Regions from separate parts of the Homo sapiens genome. Here region 1 is linked to region 2. Evidence: promoter capture Hi-C in human tissues and cell types (Jung and others, 2019). All regions are on one chromosome and are shown on one strand. Each heading gives the region's core, a stretch centred on a gene start or on the middle of the fragment in contact. The rest is flanking DNA. Distances are from core to core; before and after follow the strand shown. Region 1 overlaps RNF19B (ring finger protein 19B). Region 2 holds the start of FNDC5 (fibronectin type III domain containing 5).

The links. Contacts are between HindIII fragments. The study calls those that stand out against the background at their distance.
Region 1: a contact is called between a fragment that was not itself captured here and the fragment with the promoter of FNDC5 in region 2, in 2 of the 25 tissues and cell types used here (heart left ventricle and mesenchymal stem cells).

What each region holds. Positions count from the first base shown.
Region 1 is chr1:32,939,820-32,942,519 of GRCh38, reverse strand. It overlaps RNF19B (ring finger protein 19B), which reads left to right. Exons shown (of 9, transcript NM_001300826.2): 7 at 61-268. Among named protein-coding and RNA genes, the nearest start is that of RNF19B, 24 kb to the left of the region's middle. The HindIII fragment of the contact is 3,693 bases long and covers 1-2,700 here.
Region 2 is chr1:32,869,416-32,872,291 of GRCh38, reverse strand. It overlaps FNDC5 (fibronectin type III domain containing 5), which reads left to right and starts at 1,380. Exons shown (of 6, transcript NM_001441683.1): 1 at 1,380-1,639. The coding sequence starts at 1,402. The HindIII fragment of the contact is 14,778 bases long and covers 1-2,876 here.

The DNA.
Region 1 (2,700 bases), core at 46-2,545, 70 kb before region 2:
TGCCTACTGACTGTTTTGATGCTCTGCTGTCTTGAATTGGATGTTTGGTTCTATCCCCAGTGGCAGATGCCTGGAGAGCCCTCAAGAATCCCAGCATTGGGGAAAGCAGCATTGAAGGCCTGACTAGTGTATTGAGCACTAGTGGAAGCCCTACAGATGGACTTAGTGTTATGCAAGGTCCTTACAGCGAAACGGCCAGCTTTGCAGCCCTCTCAGGGGGCACGCTGAGTGGCGGCATTCTCTCCAGTGGCAAGGGAAAATATAGCAGGTAAACAAATAGATAATTTCTGACAGAAATGGTTAGAATTATAAGAAGTAACACATTGAGCCATTTCTCTGTGCCAGGCTTGTGCCACGTATCATCTTATTTTGATTTAATTGTCAATGGTTTTGTTTTGTTTTGTTTTTACTTTTTTATTTTTAAAGACAGAGTCTCACTCTGTGGCTCAGGCTGGAGTGCCATGGCGTGATCTCGGCTCACTGCAAGCTCCGCCTCCTGGGTTCAAGCGATTCTCCTGCCTCAGCCTACTGAGTAGCTGGGATTACAGGCACCCGCCACCACGCCCAGCTAATTTTTTGTATTTTTAGTAGAGATGGAGTTTCACCATGTTAGCTAGGATGGTCTCAATCTCCTGACCTCGTGATCCGCCCGCCTTGGCCTCCCAAACCGTTGGGATTACAGGCATGAGTCACTGCGACAGGCCTTTTTTTTTTTACTTTTACAAATAGGAAACAAGCTTAGAAAAAAAGGTTACGTCAGTTATGCAAAGTTCATTGTTCTTTCCATTGCACCATAGCTGCCTCTATATAAAGAATAATCCTGACTTGAGATTCCCCCTTGACTGCCTGAGGCTGCCTGCTTCAGGAAGGGAGAGTAGGCATTTTTATAGAATTCGTAAAATGCTCTCCGTTAGGCTTGTCATTGGCTTTCAGTAGCATTTATGCTGTATCATGGCTTATTTATTTTATTTTATTTTTTTGAGACGGAGTCTTGCTCTGTCGCCCAGGCTGGAGTGCAATGGTGCAATCTTGGCTCGCTGCAGCCTCCACCTCCTGGGTTCTAGTGATTGTCCTGCCTCAGCCTCCCAAGAGGCTGGGACTACAGGCGTGCACCACCATGCCTGGCTAATTTTTGTATTTTCAGTAGAGACAGGGTTTCATGTTGGCCAGGCTGGTCTCAAGCTCCTGACCTTGTGATCCACCCGCCTCAGCCTCCCAAAGTGCTGGGATTACAAGCATGAACCACCACACCCAGCCCATCATGGTTTATTGATAGTGGGCTTTGGGGATTTTTTTTTGTTTTTTTTCTCACTGTGTCATCCAGGCTGGAATGCAGTGGCACAATCATGGCTCACTGCAGCCTCAACTTCCTGGACTCAGGCAATCCTACCACCTCAGCCTCCTGAGTAGCTAGGACTACAAGTGCACACACCACACCCAGCTAACATTTTAAATTTTTTGTAGAGATGGGGTCTTGCTCGGTTACCCAGGCTGGTCTTAAACTCCTGGCCTGAAGCCATCCTCCCAACTTGGCTCCCAACGTGCTAGGATTATAGGCATGAACCATTGCCCCCAGCTGGTTTAGTGATACTGCAATCCTTATTACCTTTCTATTTCCATTTGCTAGATAAGGAAAATCAATTCTATGTACTTGTGTTGAAAATATGTAAAGCTTTGTAACTAAAAAGATTGTGACTTGCTTGGTCATTTCACTAGTTAGGCAGACCAGAGTGTATATTTTCAGAGGAGCATAACATGTTGCCTGAGAAGCAGTTGAATGCAACGGAGAAGAAAGGCCTAGGGAGGGGTAAAGGTAGAACAAAGCAGGATAGGAAGGTAGAGGAGATGGTTGCCTTCAGCTATCCAAAGGACCTTCAACTGTGAAAAGGATTAGACTTCTATGCCTCATACCAAAAGGTAGATTAAGATGACTTGGCAGAAGCTAAAGGGAAACTAATTTTGGTTCAGTATAGAGAATATAGGGAAAAGCAACATGAAAGCCCAAAGAGGAAAAAGGCTACTTTAGTAGATACTGAGCTGCCTATCCCTGGAAATGTTTACAATGAGACCAGATGGCTATTTGGCTATAAGAAGGATTCAAGCAACAGATGGCAGGTGGACTGGATCTCCCACCTGAGTGCCTGTCAATCACTTGGGAGCCTCTTAAAAATAGACTTCAGGGACCCATCCCAGAATGAGTAGCTTAGAATTTCCTGGAGTGGCACCTAGGGGGTGATCCGTGTTTTGCAAAAGCTCCCCAGGTAATTCTAGCACAGCCGTTGCATGAACCAGCATCTGACAACCACCTAAGTAGGAGCCCTTTCTGAAAGACTCTTCCAACTCAGAGTGATTCTGTGGCAGACCTGAAACTAGAAGCCAGGTCTCTGACACTGTGCACTTTCCATTGCATTCCCTCATTTCCCTGGGCCTTGGCACATTTTTGAAGGGCACCTGAAGCTGGAGCAGCAAAGCAAAGGCTCAGGCAGTAGGATGGAAGCTGCTTGAATGTGCAGCTGCAGGCTGCTACTGACCCGTCTGTGCATCTCATGACTCTGGTTGTCTCTTATCAGGGGATCCCGCCCCCACATGCTGGCATATTCACTGCTGTGCTTTCTTAAAACCAACACCCCTGTAAATAAGCAGACAGACATAATTGGAGACTGACTTGCTGAAACTGCAGCTTAGCCAGTCCAGCTGTTC
Region 2 (2,876 bases), core at 131-2,630:
AAGAGCCCCTAAGCTCGCTTCCATCTCACCCCTTCCAAGGTGACCAAGGAGGAACACAGGGCCAGCGAAGGAGTCCTGGGTGGGCATAAGGAGAGGAGGGTTGTCTATCGCTCCTCTTGACCCACTGTGTGAATCTGCACCAAGCTCTTCCCATCGGTAGACCTCACTTCCTTAATGTAAAACCAGGGGGATGGAGAGGAAGACCCTGAAGACGTTTCTGTGGCAGAACTTTGCAAGACGTCTCCTTTCCAAAGAAAATTAGCCCTTCCAGGGCTTCTGGAAAACCTTTAAGACCCAAAGGAATGCCCCGCTAGTAGTGGAATTTCGGATAGTCGTGGGAGGGGGCTCAGGGGTTCTTGCTGAGACAAAAGGCCCTGAGCCCTGGTCCATGCCTCTCTCCTCCACCTTGTTTCTCTGGCTGAGATGAGGGAAGGGGGCTGGAGCCACTCCCCTTCTCAGAGATGCTCTTAGAGATTGCTGCAGACTGTTTTCTGGCTGGGGAGGAGCTGGCCCCGGCCAATTCTAGAGTCTCACGAATCTCCGGATGGGTGAAGTCACTCTGGGTGGGGAGACAGTTCAGTTAAGCACAGCTTTGGGAGTCAGATCAGCCTGTGTTCAAATCCTGGCTCTGCTGCGGGTCCCTGGACAAGTCAAGTAGCCTGTCCAAGCTGCAGGCTCCTCCTGTGCAAAGTGTGCAGAGTATGACTTTACAGGGTTGCCCTGAGAATTAAGCCACATAATGCAAAGAAAGCTCAGCATAGTATCTGGCCCCTGGTAGACGCTCATTACTGCCCTCACTATGGGGATGAAAATGAAGGAAAAGGACTGGCCTGGGGTCACAGAGCTGGACTCTCCAGTGAGACAGAGCAGCCTCTTCCCAACCCCACTGGAAACACGGAGCCCTAGTGTCCACTTAGCACTCTCTGCTCACCCCAGCCTTACTGTGATCTCTCCCCTCTGCTCCCGTCTGCCCCAGCCGCAAGGCCTCGGGTCTACCGTGGAATGAGGGGATCCCTAGGCCCAGGGAAGGGAGGCGCGCTTAGGGGTGGGGGCACAAACGGGCATCTCGGTGGCACTTGTCCTCTCTCTACCCTGGGAAAGGGCAGAAAGCGGCAGCCAAGTCAGGGCTGTGCACGGGAGAGAGAGTGACCGCGGCGGGGGCGCGGAGAACCCCGCTGGGCTCCCGCTCGGTGAGAGGGCGGGAGCCGTGGGTCCGCGAAGCCCCTTCCTCCCCGGCAGAGGACCTAATAGGCAGCGGGGGCGGGAGTGGGGGCGCCCTCCGGTCCTCACCCCGCCCCCGCACCTCTCCCCGCAGCGGGGGCGCCCCGCCCCCCGGGCGCCCGACGTGGACGCGGCCGCCGCCACCGCCGCCGCGCGGGAGTCGCTGTCCGCGGAGCCGACATGCAGGCGGCTCGGGGCGGCGCAGGGCGGCCGGAGCGGCCGGGCCGGCCGGGCCGGGGGCCGGAGCGCGAGCGCGAGCGGCCGCCGGGCGCCGGAGCCGCGTCCCCCTGCGCCGCCCCGGGCCTGCCGGCCGGAGGAGCCACCATACACCCCGGGTCGCCGAGCGCCTGGCCGCCCCGCGCCCGCGCCGCGCTCCGCCTGTGGCTGGGCTGCGTCTGCTTCGCGCTGGTGCAGGCGGGTAAGGGGGCCCGGGGCGGGGGGCCGGCGCCGGGGCAGGCTCCTCTCGAGCCCAGCTACCTGGGAGTCCCCTGGTCCTTTCTCTGCCCCCTAGGGACTCCTGTCTCGGCCCAAACACTGCTCCCCTAACCCAGCCCCCAGCGTCTTCCTACCTCCTTGACCCCCAGACCTGTCCTTCAGTTTCCAAATCTCCCCTGTCACCTCAGCCCTGGGTTTCCTAGGGTCTTGTGGTCCCCAGTCCCCTAATCCCATTCCCCTAACCCCAGGTCTTTGCCTCAGCTTCCCTAGCTCCCTTCTTTGACCCAGGGAGCAGCTGAGGACACCAGTTCCCCCACCTGGGCCTCTCTCTGTGTCCCCAGGACCTCTCAAAGCCCTGCAAGCCAACTCTGCAGGGGCAGATGGGGTCCCGCTGTGCAGGAGCACGTGTGAAGGGGATGGGGGCTGGCACCTGAGGGCGCAGGGCGTGGGGTGGGCCCCGGCACCCCTGATCTGGTACAGTGTCTGGCCTGCCCCATGGGGCCGGCCCGTCCTTGCCCAGCCTCTCCTGCCACTCTGTCTTTGTCCCTCCTGGCTGCCGCTGCCCGGCTCATCTCTCCCTCCGTGGCTCGGGGAGCGCTCTCTCGCAGCTGTCTTTCTCAGATGCCCCACTTCTCTGTCCTCTGGTTCTGTGTCTGCCACCACCTGTCTGTGTCCTGTCTCTCCACCTCCCCCTCCATGTCTGGCTCTGTCTCCCTCAGGTCCCAGGCCCAGCCCCCTGGGTCTCAAGTTCACTCTCTGTGGGGTGAGGGGTGCTGCTCAGGCGCAGCTCTGCCCCGTGCTGCACCTGCCCCTTGGAAGATACTGAGCCTTATGTGACTGCACTGCCCCTCTCCTGGACGGTTTTCCTCACTGACCCCCACTATCCCTATCACTCTCACCCCCACTTCCCTCCTGTCTCTTCTGGAGTGATTCCTCATTCATCCTCTTCCCCTACCTGTTCTCTCCTCTCCACTCGCCATGGAGGGGCCCTGCTCTGAGTGACCCCATCTTCCCCTGCCACCTCCCCACCTGCATCTTGGGGCTGGAAGAGCATGGATAAGAGGCTCACACAGACTCTTCCGCAGGCTTTATTCTGCCTGGGCCACCACAGCTCTGAGGATACTTCTGTTCTCCTCACTCCCAGTCCAGGGCTCACCCCAGCCTGACACTTCTCGATCTCTGGGTCTTTCTCCTTCGCGCAAGGTCACTCATTGGACAGG